2 separate regions of the Homo sapiens genome follow, and region 1 is linked to region 2. The links are contacts of gene promoters, found by promoter capture Hi-C in blood cells and fetal thymus (Javierre and others, 2016). All regions are on one chromosome and are shown on one strand. The core of a region is centred on a gene start or on the middle of the fragment in contact, and the rest is flanking DNA. Distances in the headings are between cores, read along the strand shown. Region 1 has its middle 43 kb from the start of WDR1. Region 2 holds the start of HS3ST1 (heparan sulfate-glucosamine 3-sulfotransferase 1).

What was found. Contacts are between HindIII fragments. The CHiCAGO score rates a contact against its expected background, and 5 or more counts as called.
Region 1: a fragment that was not itself captured here is called in contact with the fragment with the promoter of HS3ST1 in region 2 in 1 of 17 cell types (megakaryocytes); the score reaches 5.9 in megakaryocytes.

What each region holds. Positions count from the first base shown.
Region 1 is chr4:10,156,741-10,162,953 of GRCh38, forward strand. No RefSeq gene overlaps it. Among named protein-coding and RNA genes, the nearest start is that of WDR1, 43 kb to the left of the region's middle. The HindIII fragment of the contact is 6,999 bases long and covers 1-6,064 here.
Region 2 is chr4:11,426,542-11,432,996 of GRCh38, forward strand. HS3ST1 (heparan sulfate-glucosamine 3-sulfotransferase 1) reads right to left here and starts at 2,353. Exons shown (of 2, transcript NM_005114.4): 1 at 2,158-2,353. RefSeq lists an enhancer at 2,009-2,228 and a silencer at 2,319-2,498. The HindIII fragment of the contact is 3,893 bases long and covers 1-3,686 here.

The DNA.
Region 1 (6,213 bases), core at 1,315-3,814, 1.3 Mb before region 2:
AACTCGCTTGTTACTTGACTATGCTGTTATTGAGTACGTTTTAGTGTCTTAAATACAATGAAAGTCATTCTCAGAAAACATTAACTGTCGGCTTTCTCCCAACTGAAGAGCTTATGGGCTTTCCAACAAGACCATCTCTGCTTGTCAAGACACCTTGGAATGGAAAGTGAATGCTGCTCTGCCTCATTTCCCATCTTTTATTTCTAATCCCTAAAGGAAGGGGACTGAACTACAGAAACCACTCTATCCTGTTGTTGCATGACAAGGGGAGCCTGATCTGGACAACTGTTTCTTAGCATTTCCAACTTGGAGTTTGATATGTCTTAATCCTTAGGAGCTACATGTGGCCCCAGGAGGACTGAGCCAGCAGCAGGTGCATTGGATGAAAGTCGATGCAGGGGGGAGACCAGGGAAGAAGCAAACTCCATGACAGGAAGAGGGGGGTTCAGCTTTCAGGTACAGTGTCTGATCACTGGCAGTCAGCACTTGACCTGTTCTAGAAATGGCTCCTGGGGCTGCTGTGATCATGCTTGTAGACAAAGGAGCCAGCCTGGCTTCCTGGGAAAAGGACTAGAAGCCTTGGGTTCCTGGAGGTGGCCTTGAGGACTCTAGGGATAAAGGGATCTGATGGGAATACTTTACCTTGGAATGCAGCCGGAGGAGCCATCCTAGGCAGTGACCCGGGAATCCTTCAGTGTACTTTGTGAAAGAGGCTGTCTGCTGTCATAACTGATCTCTTCCATACTTGGTGGTTTTTCCTTCCCAGGCACTAGTATTACATACATCTTGTTTCTTAAGTCACTACTTGGTAAGAGAAGCGTTGCCTCAAAGCAGGTAATTCTGTGTACTGTGAACCTAGAGCCACCAGGGAAGGCCACACTTCTCTAACGGTGAAGTGAGTCTGCCCAGGCAGTCATCTCCAGTGATGGGTCCTGGAGGCTCTGCCCTCTGTGGCCTGGGGTTGCTGCTGTGCCCCTTACAAGACAGCCTGCTGTGTGTGGCTGCCATCTCCTAAACTCAAGTTTGGCTCATTTTCTTTGAGCATGGGTGATATATCTTTTTCCTTTCCTAGGAGAAGGGGTGACTTCTAAATAATAAAGTTCCATTGTTGCTAGGGCACATGATCTTTGTTGGGTGGGGTGATGTCAGAATGCTAAGTTCCTAAGAACTTACCATTTCATTGTCTGTTGTGATGCCTCATGGCCACCAGGTGGTGCTTAAGGACCCTCAGCCAAGGGCCAGAATGGAAACAAGCTGATGGCTCTTGGAACTCCTGGACGGATTTGAGGAATACACTGGGGGAGGAGTTCTTGTTACTCTTATCATTTTCATTAGATTCGTCTGGATCCTGTGTGAACTAATGCCATCCCCCTGAACAAATGGCTTCTGAAATGTGGACAATTCCTGCCTGGGGAGGCAGCCATGGATGAGCAGGAGAGCCCAGGTTCTCCTGCCTGGCAGGAGTCTGAGCTCAGTGCTTAGAGGCTGCTCTGCGCACCCCACCCCCACCCCCACCCCCACCCCCACCCCCACCCCCACCCACCAGGCCGGGCACCGTGCTAAGCAGGCAAATGTTCTCAGTGTTAGGCGAGCATCCCATGTTACAATCACGTGATCCCAGGTACCAAGTTTGTTTGCAGTAATTTTCACGGAAAACATGAACACAATCAGCTTGGCTTATGAACTATTTTTTGCCGTGGAAATACGTACAAAGCCTGCTTTGTTCTGTAGACTAGTATCACATGACATTGGTTAGAATGTAAACTTGAAAAACATCCAACAGACTTAAACTCCTTACAACATAATTTATACAAAGAGTTTATAGTCTTCAGGACTGAGAACAAGAATAAAAGACCGTTTTTACTTGGTAACTGTATTGCTTAAATTATAACATTTCGTAACTACATTAACTATTGTCAAGTAAAGTGGAAAGAACACAAACCATGATGGACATGCTTTTACATAAAAGCACCTCCTAGGCAACTCTGCCCTTCAGGAAGTGTTGCTCACCTAGAAGGCTGGCACTGCTGTGTGAGCGGTGTTTCCTAGTTATGTAGGCTGGCCTGATGAGCTATGTATGGCAGCACTAGCAGGACCTGCTCGAAACGACAGAACTCTCCACAATACTTTGAGAAATGATTCCACATCCTAAAGCCCAAAATCATGAAAATTGTCTCAAAGTTGGGGCTTTTTTCAAAAACTCAGGTCAACCATGCCATTCAGCTGCTCCTTTGTGGGTCCCCTCAGATTCTGTGGGTCCCCTCAGATTCTGTGGGTCCATGTCCACAGGTGACTCGTTCAAAACACTAGTCCCAGGCAGCTCTCAGCAAAGGTGGTGGGGGTTGCACACCTGCTCCAGCACAGAGGCCTCCTGGGGCTCTTGACAGGGCAACAGCTGGGGCTGCATCTCCCTTGACATCTCCTATTTTCAATGGAGAAGCGTCAGGTGACTATGCCCTAAGTGTATGCAGGCCAGGCAGATGTTGGGGTGCCCTTCCATCAAGGTCTGGTGGGGCTTTCTCTGAAAGGATATATGGCTGCTGTCCTGGTCCGTGGAGATGACTTTGTAGTAGCTGCCTTAGAGACGCCTTCATACAAAGGCTGAGCAGTGGGGTCCTTCATATTCTTGTATTAGTTATATCTGCTGAGGAGGAGACAATGTCTGAGGCAAGGACTGTGCCAGAACCTCTGTCTTCTGAAGCACAGATTACTTGGGATTTGGTAATGGCTGACACTTGGGAGTTGTTCTTGTTGCTTTGGTGCTTGTGTTGTGCCGTGTGCTCTAGCTGAGCCTTCTTGGGACATCACTGCCCTATCAGAAGAGATCAGTAGCTCACAGTCTTCCTGAGGTCAGCATTGTTACATGCAAGCTCTGCAGAGTCCTTTTTCTCCAGCTTCATGTGGATGGCTGTGGGATGACCTGTGGGATAGTGCTCCCAGAAGCCCAGCACCATTTCATAGAATTGCATTCCTGGCCCCAGGAGTAAACACTTTTGCAGACTTCTCATCCCAAAGCTGCTGGACTTGAGACCTGGGTTGCTCTGCAGCTGCTTGCTGCTGCATATCTTGCCCAGGGGGCACTTGTGGAGATGAGATCACTATTGCAAAAGGTATATGCCACAGTTGAGAGCATAAGAACTCTCCATTACTTGGGAAACACTGGCCATGATGCTGGAACTGAAGTGAAGGTACCTGTTTCCCTCAATCCTTGTGACTCATACATTAGAACCTGTTCCTGAAAGACTAGCTTCTGCTGGTAATTGAGGCTGCTAGGGATGACATCCCCATTCTGCTGTCCTTGAAATGGTGAGAGAAGCCCTTTTGTTGCTCCTGCTGCCTCTTTACCTGCACACCATGAACACAGTGCAAGAGGGAAGGGCCTTGCATGCTGGCTTTCTTGCATCTCAGGCTTGAGAATACTGACATGCAGAAGGATAAGGAAACATTACATCTAGAAAGGCCACTCTGTCACCTGAATATCCCAAATCCCAGCTTGGTATCCTCTTTAACCCATGGGGCTACAGTTATTTGGGCCATCTTATTTGCTGGGATTCCCCTGTATTACTACAGAAGAGTGGCCAGCTCCACCCAGTAGAACTTCCTGGGCACGAGAGTTCTGCTCGGTGTCATCAGTGGGAGATTCCACCTGTTTTTTCTGGATTAAAAATAGGTGACTTGGGCAGAGGGATCATGGTTTCTTGGCAGTGTAGATCGTATGTGCCTCTAGGTGGTAGTATGGCTCTTGTTTTGAAACCAGTTGTTTGTTACGTAGGACAAGAGACTTCGCTGGCCACTTTTTTTTTGGTTGTAAAATCGGGGTAAGGGTTCTCTGCAAATGACTGAAGTATTAAATGACTGAAATATTCTTAGTTGATTCTTCATAAACTTATGCTTTGGTTTTCCACTTCCTCTTCCCCATCTTTCTTCATTGGGATTATCTTCAGAGATCTTGTGTTCAGATCCTGACTGAGGCTGACAGGCCCACAGGGTTGTTGGGCTTGACTGCTAATCACCACATGCTCATGTGTGTGGCCTAGTGACAATACCTACACATAGCAAAGTTATCCTACTTGTTTAAAGAATTCTGAGCTGCTTCTCTGACGTGTGGAGACACAAGTTGGCTTTCTGCCTCTTGCTCTTACTCCTTGGGAAACCAGACTCACTGTCCGAGACTCAAACTTGGAAAAAGGAGCCTACTGACTCAGAAGTGGATGGACAGGTGTGCACAGGACCTGTGCTCAGCACAAGAAAGTGAGGCTACATTCTGTCAGTGTGTCTTCCCCATCCTTGTGCCAGTGTGCTTACCTCTCACCAGGAGATGAAAATTTCTAGCTGGGCTACAGAGGCGGCGGTCCCAAATCTTTCTCTCCGCCTCCTTGCACCATGTTACATTTACTGCTACTGATGCTTAATGGTGGCTTTGTTGTTCAGTTGTCCAGGAAGTAGATGCTGAGAGAACTAGAAATGCAAAAGACCTAGAATGAAGAGGGAAGCTGTCAGATCATAATGTGAATCAGCCAGTCCTGCCAGTCCAGTAGGGAGCACGAGAGCAGGATTCACTCAGGAATTCCACATGAGGTAGAAATGGCTCGACTCAGTTTGGCTTGGGGCCATCCCAAGAATAACAGCAAAGAGCTTGGAGCCCTTGGGTAACCACACTCCGCAGCTGGACAGCAAGTCTGATGAAATGGCTGACAGGTTGGCATGGTTGTCAGTTGATGGGCAGCTATGATTTTCAAATCCTAAACTGCAGCTGCAGTTGGTCTGGAAGGACCATAAGATTATCTGTTTTCCTAATGTCAGTCCTCAGAGTCCCTCACACTTGGCCAATACTTGTCAAAGTTGCTTGTTTCAAAGGTGACCAAACAACCACCTAATGTCTGAGCCCCTGCTGGCCTGTCCTTATCAGGCAATGTTTGCTGTAATGGCCTAGCTACTCCTGACCCATCAGGCATTGGGGGCACCAAGAAATGGCCCAGTGTAGCAGCAGTTCCTGCTCACCTTCCGGCAAAAGGAGCCAAACATGACCTGGCAGTGTAGTTGGGTCCTCTGGAAGTATCTGGAGCTACACTGTCTAGGTCTGCTTTGGACCTACGTTTGGGAAGTAAATGCCTTCTAAACTCACTATCCGGGGTCATTGTGGGTAATAAGGGAGAAGCATCAGAGAACAGTTGTTGGTTTAAAGTAGGTACTGCAACTGGAGTGCATTGTGCTTGTCATAGGTTGTTTCCTGGCAGCAAACTGTCTCTTGAAACTGCTGGTAAACTGAGGCAGGCTACGGAAGAGGCTCTTGCAAGCCTGACTGTTCGCTCCTTTGAACCAGGCTGAGACTACTTCCGTGGGTGGTTTGTGGTGGGGTAGTTGAGCGCTTGGGGAAGGACACTTTAAGCCAACACTAAGTTTGTATAAAATATTCAGATTAAAACCCATGAAGAGAGAAAGGAGGCAGGATGGGGCTGAAGTCAGACTGGGACGTAAGACTTGTCAGTCTTGCTGAGCCTGGTGGAGAGGGTCCAGAGCATACAAAAAAGGCATTCCTGTACTCCAGCCAGTGGACCCTCTCCCTTAAACCTTCTGTGCTGACCTCATTACAAAGTATCTCCTTGATCTATATTTAAATTTCTGTCTTTAAGTTTTTAGATTGGCACACAATGTGAATGGACGAATTCTGTAATGTGTTCTAGGTGGTTCATGGTATAGGCTTAAGACACCAATTGTGCAATGTGAAAAGTCACACGGTGACACACGTGTCCTCTTGGGAAGACCAGGTGGACCTTGGACTTTACACAACTAAGTTTATAACAACCAGTCTAACACCAATGTGTACTAGCAAACCCAGGGGACTTCTGCCTACTTCCATACTGGAGGAGCCAAGTGGGTTGTTTGACTTTCTACAGCGATCTGAGAATGAAATAATTGGGTATGTGAAGTCAATTTGTGTTCCCTAGAGGCAGACTTGTAGATGGAAATTGTTTAAGGTGTTAGGTTTACTGGTGAAGTGAGCTCTCACACCTGAAAGCAAACTGGAACAGGGTGGAATGCAAACTGTTTGTTTTGGAAAAGAAGCTTAAATGAGGCCATAATCTCTGGAGCCAGAGTAGCTTCCACAGCTAGCCTTGAATATTACCTGGCTGGGCTTTTGTGTACTCCTCACACTCCTAGCCATTGGAAGTGGCCACATCCAGGGATGTGGCATAACATTGGCTCAAGAAA
Region 2 (6,455 bases), core at 1,103-3,602:
TTCTCACCAGCTTCTCAGAACAAAAATCTCCTATCTTAAAACTACAGAGCATTGTATACCCTGTGGCATCACAGAGGATCCACAGTCTAGAAGCACAGCTTAATAAGCCTCACTAAGGAATCTTCATCTATGCTGCTGTTGTAATTAACTGCTTCCACTTAAGAGTGCTTAGTCATGAAGTTGTCCATCCCTGTCAAACTCAGCTGAAAGAGTTAGATGGGCTAACCAAAACCTGGAAAGACTCTTTTAGAAGCTGTTCTTTCTCTGCTTAGCGCTGGAGAAAACCTTATGTAACACAATGGTCCATTTCAATATGTTATTTCTGCAATCCTGTGGGGGAAAATCTAAGCGCTGGATGTACAACGGGAAGGGTAAGGCAGGGATTTGCAGCGGAGCGCGCGTCTCCTGGAATTTCAGTAGGTAAGGCTTATTCTAATTGCACCCAGTGTTACCCAATATTACCAGGAATGCAGAAAGCAAGAAAAAAATCCGAACGTCAAAGGATGCGCTTTGCTTTAGAAATGCAGGGAGGCAGAAGTTGGGTTATTTCTCCCTCCTTTTTTTTTCTTTTTTTTTTAAAGATGGAATTCCTGGAATTAACCCTTGGGTGGAAGCATTTCAACAAAATAAAATGAGATTTGCCTGCAAAGCGAGAACGCACGGGTGGGAATGAAGGATCCTGCCTGTGCCAGGCTGCTGCCTCAGCAGTGTCCAAGCACCCAGCGCCTGAAAGCGGGAGCGTGGGGACTCGTCTGGGGACCCTCTTCCGGGGCTACTGGCGGGAGGCGCAGCCGAGCTGGTGGTGGCGGGGTTTCCCTCCGGGGCTAGGGCTGAGGGAGGAGAAGAGGGCGGACTGGCTCCTTCCGTTCTCGGCCACCCTCCCCGCCACTCCTTGAGGCTGCTCCATGCTAACAGGAGACTGTTTCTCGGAGCGCAGCGCAAAGACAGTGGATTTGGAGTGGCCTCCCTAGAATCCCCCCAAAAGCATCTTGGCACAAGTTGTAGATAAAAATAGCTCATGATAACATTGTGGGAAAGGGAGGAGCGAGACTCGCGCAAGGCGAGGCAAGGGTACCACTGGATCTGCAAAGGAGGAGGAAGAGGGAGGATGCAACCCTTGGCCCAAGAGAGCGCCCTGAGTGTGCGAGGAATCGCTGGCTCCCAGGGGAGGGAAAGAGATGGAAGACCTATAGCGCCTATAACTGCAGAGTTATAGACCTATAACTGCAGAGCCCAGCACACCCCATCCCGCGCCGGCACCCGGCTTTGGCTCCAGCTTCTTCTTCCCATCATCCGCCTACGTTCTGGGTCTGTCCTCCGCTTCCTGGGACAGGCTGGGGCTAGAAGGAGGAGCAGCGCGCCGTCCGCCCCCTGGCTGGTAGAGCGCACCTGGAGAGGTCAAGCTCCGCGAATAAGACCCTTCCTGGGAGCTGGGGTCTAGGCGTTCCAACCGCGGGTTCGCACCCCGCCATCCCTCACCTCCATCCGCTGCCACTACCCAAGGGCCCGGAAATAGAAAACCACGAAGGGGGAAAAAAATCAGTAAAAAGTAACAAGAAAAAAATCAAGACCCTCATGTAATTGGCATTAGGGATGAGAGGTTTATTGTCAGGGCTGTCACCTCAATCTCTCTCTTTGGGAGATGCCTATCTCCAACCAAATGCAAAGGCAAACCCGACCAAGGCTTCTCCACCCCCAAAGGCTCCCTCAGCCGAGTTACTTTTGCGGGCTGTGTCCTCGCCCCAGTTTCTGGCCCCAGGTGGTACCCAGGATCCGTTGAGTGCTGCGCTCTCGCTGCCCTACAGGGTCCTATGGTGAAGCTGCGGTCGCGAAGCGGCCGGCAGGAGCGAACCTCACGACTCTGCAGGGGGGGAAAACATCCAACCCAGTAAGAGTCAGAAATCTGGGTCCCTGTCCTTACAGATCAACCGGTCCCTCGGGACTTCCAGAGCAGAGGTGCTAGGGCAGGAGGTGAGGAGGATGGGAAAATCCCCAGCCTTTGCTTCCTGGTTCCCTCTGCATCCACTCCACCTGCTCCAGCCTCGATTCTTCTTAGGTTCTGCACTTGCCCGAAGTCCAGAACGCCAGACAAAGGCACCTCGGAGCCCTCTACACCTGCGTCCTGCCACTCTCCCACCCCGCGCGCGCCGCACTCACCTGAGCCGCGCCTCTGTCCAGCCCGTCCGGCGCCCTAAATAGGCTCCTAGGCTGGGCCATGGGCAGCACTGCCGAGCACCCGCGGCGGGTAGAGCAAGTTTCTGGATGGCCCGGGGCAGGCGGGCGGGGAGAAGGCGCAGGCACCCACTGAGACCCGGCTGTCGTGGCGGCGACTCCTGGCTGCCAGGGCGCAGAGGACCTTGCAGGCGGGCGTTTTGGTGCTCAATCCCGAGGAGGGGGAGGAGCGGGAGGAGGAGCGGGAGCAAAAGGAGGGGACGGAGGAGGCCGGGCCCGGAGGGAGAGCGCGTTGGGCAGAGGAGGATCGCGAGCGCCCACTGCTGCCCGGCCCGCTCGGGTGCCGCCCAGAGTCCGGCCCGCTAGGTGCCTGGTGCTCCGCTCTGCGCTCAGCTGCTCCGCACAGCCCCGCCTGGCACGCAGCTCCAGCGGCTGGTCGGGTAGTAGTCGGTCCCGCCCACCCGGTGCGGTGGCCCCTGGGGTTTCAGTCCAAGGGGAGGGACCAGCGCTCCAAGAAGGTGAGGCTGCTGGGATGGGTGACTCCGCCGTCACTGCAAACACGGGACGTCCCGTCTACTCCCTTACGCCTGCTTGGTCTGAGCCCGAGTCTACCTCTTCTCTAAGTCGCCAGCTCGGCACTTGTACCCGGGACCTGTGCTCCTCCCACGTGAGTCTGCACCATGCGTATTCCCTTCCTGGCAGGTGACCCACCTTAGGCGCTGGCGCTCCTTCCGCCCCCCGGGAAGCAGGAGGTGCCATCCTCTCCAATTCGCTCTGCAGCCGGACTGGGACCGGAGCGGCGGCCTGGGCCAGAATCCGCGTGAGGAGCCGGCTTCAAAGAGCGCCCTGTCGCCATTGAACACTCCTTTTCCTTTGGTTTAGCGTCGGAGAGCGGACGCCAATTTGCCAGGAGAGCGCGGAAAATTCAGCTTTTTTTTTTTTTTTTTTTTTTTTTTTTTTCCGCTAGTGCACTAGGATTGCAAACGTCAGCTCTGAAATAAAAAGCAGGATATTTCTGCCCCGCTCCTCTATTCCGGAAGCTGGGAGGTTCTGTGGGAGAAAGGACCTGCACCCAATAACTCAATTTAAGATTTAAGGTTTTGAGGGGCGTGGGGTTGGAATCGCCTTGGAGAAACGGGTTTGCCTGCTTACCTGAGCCAAAGGAAGTTGCCCTCAAAGGCAGGTCAGCAATCATACCCCGCCAAAAGCAAATGCACATCAAAGTAACTTCCTTTAAATGAGATTACTGTAGTTTCCATGTCTTCCACATTAGTAAATAAATATTTGGAAGACTTCGAATTTGTGATTTACGTTTAAATATATTTCACCAACATTGTTTAATTAAAAAAAAATCCCATCTAAGAGAAGGTTCCTATAGGAAATTGGCCCTTTAACTCATACACAGATTACCCTCGGCACTTTCAGAAAACAACACAGTGACCAGTATATTCTGTCTTTTTGATACAGCCAGAAGCACCCTGAAAGCTGAGACCTAACTGTGCTTTTGGAAAATAAGCTTTTAGGAGTTGAATGACCTTGTCTACTTCTTTTAGTCAGAATAATGTTGGCATGTCTATTTTAGGTTAAAAAAAAATACAAATTCTAAAAAGTGACTTTAAAGGCCCACTTTGAAAGCCTTAGCATTTAAACTAACATTAGATTTAAAAGAAGGGCTTTTCTCCCCCATTATAGGAAGCTGTGTAAAATCATGTGTGAGGTTGTGAGGGTCAAATGGAAGTCTAAGATAAAGTTCTGCCAATTACTGGTGTCTTTAAGCTTCCACCAGCAGCCAAGCACAGTGCAGATCATGAGTCCTTCAAAATACGGGGTGGTTTTAATGCTCTAAGTTGGTATGATTACTTTTTCTAAAGAGCTCAAAGTGCTTTGGTGCCATAGTATGAATTTCATTACCCATTGTGAGACACAAAGGGGGTTAGCAATGATTCTGTTTGCACCCTGGAAGCCAAAGGCAGGTTACTCACCCACTTAGTTCCCTACCACAAGACCTTGAAAGAAACTGGAACCCCAGGTCTCCAGCCCAGAGATTTTGTTGGAAGTTTCCATTTGCAGGAAATGACTGCAGGGCACATGTGGGAAGTGACAGGAATTTGAGGACTAACATTTTAGTTTTCCTCATTTCTTTTTAAATCTGAGCAATTGTTCATTGATCGATAATCTATGTTCTTACATTCAGATAAATAAAAACACCAACTGGCTATTTTGTTCTTACTTAGTTTTATGTGTATGTCCAGGCATTTGCCACTGCTCCTAAATAGCTCTCCCTGAAGTCTTCTGGTCATGAGTTAGGTTTCTTATCCAGAAGCTCATGTAGTGCCAGAGCTTAGCTCTCCTATGACAACACAATCACATTATTGAAACATCTATTTAGGGATCTGTCTTCTCTAATAGATTATAAACGCCTTGAGCTTGGGTATCGTGATTTAATGATGAATCCTCCATGGTATCTGAATCCCAGAATCCTACAATCCTGCATGGTATCTGAAACATACTATGCTCTTAAAAAAAAAAAAAAAAAACTTTGTAAATGGAACTTCCCTCAAGGAGTCAGGGTTTAAGTCAAACATGTTTCCCTTTCAAAGCCGTGGGCATGAGAATAGAGGCTGTTAGGAGACACAGTAGTAGTTGACTGCAAAAGTGTCTGTCAGTCAGTTGTGTGGCCCAAGACTCTTTTTATCAGTTCCAACAACTGAAAAATGAGAGGGTTTTAGTGGAAGATCTCTGTACTGCTAATATTTTAAGATCTCGAAGTCTTTATTGAGCACCTAGTATGTGTACAACACTATGCCAGTTACTAAGAGAGAGATGAAAAAATAAGATATCTCCATTGCCCTAAGAGAGCATAAAATCTTATCTCAAGGAAAAACAAGGCAAACACTCCTAGCCTACCTTTACAGACACGCACAGACATGAGTTAACACAGTTGTAAACTGTTCTAAAGAAGATAAAGGCTCAAGGAGTGAAAAGGCATGAAATAGAAACAAAAGCAACTGACCTATGAGTTTGGGCAATAATCAGTAATAATACCAGCTAAAGTGTATCTAAGGCTTATAGTGCCAGGTACTATGCAAAATGAATCATAGGAGCTGCACCTTTTGTTCATTTTACAAATGGGGAAACGGAGGTTTAGGAGAGTTTAGTGACTCGTTCAAGGTGACATACTAATAAGTGGTAGGGCTGATATTCAAAGAGTTCTCACCTGACTCCAAAGTGCATCTTCTCAACCAATATTAGAGATTATTAGCCCAGACTTCCCTATTTTATAATTGAGGGATTTCATTAGAGCACTAGAGGAGGAAGCTACCCTTCCAGTAAAAACTAGACTCCTAGTCTAGTGCTCTATGTAATTAAGTAATATGCTTATGTTTGCTATTTTTCTGGTTTTTCTCTTTCCCACAAAATATGTAATAGGAGACGGGAGGTCAGGAAAAGGGGAGAGAGAGAAAAAGAGAGAAGTTGCTTCTTTTGAAGATGTCCAGAATCCACAGTAGTCTACCTGCTCAGACTCAATGGGGTTTTATTTGTAACCCCCAGTCTAGTGGGCAGCCCTGTATAGCCTTTCTTCCCATCATGGCTGTTTGAATCTTTCAGGTTAATAGCATGAATATTAAAGACTCCAGTGGGACTCTTTATCCACAAAGGAAATTGGGATCAGGTTAAAAATCCAATTTTAATAAACTTTCCAAGTCCTGATTTAGATGAGGTACTAATGGCTCTTACTGCTGAATCACCTTAAAAGTCAAATGTATTTTTAAAAGGGAAGCTTGTTGGGTATTGTTTAATTGTGCATTGCACATTCCTGTCTTAATAGAAAAAGATCATCTGTAAAACTTATGAGAGCAGATAGGAAATGCCACTATCCACAGAGCCAGTTGGGTAGAGGGAAGGGCGTTGGGTTTGAAAGATAATTTTCACTCGTTTGACCAAAACAAAGAGAGCATGATTGCACTGTGTGAAAATGATATCCTCGAATAACTCCACTAATTTGATTGTGCTGAGGTCTAGAATTGTTTCTATTTCTTTTGATTTGCTAATTAGCTAGAGCAGTCCGCTAGTGAGAGGGGAAATGAGGGTCACAGCCATAAAACATGGAGGATTGTTGTTCCTTCCAACTCAGCTCACCCATCTCATGCCTCCCCAACCATCCCGTCCCAACGCCCAATTTTGTCTCTGTGTATGTAACAACAATCCATCCATCTATGACAAATTGAGTGATTCTTTTCTGAAAACAGGATTTTTAAGATTATCTACTTTATGACACCAAA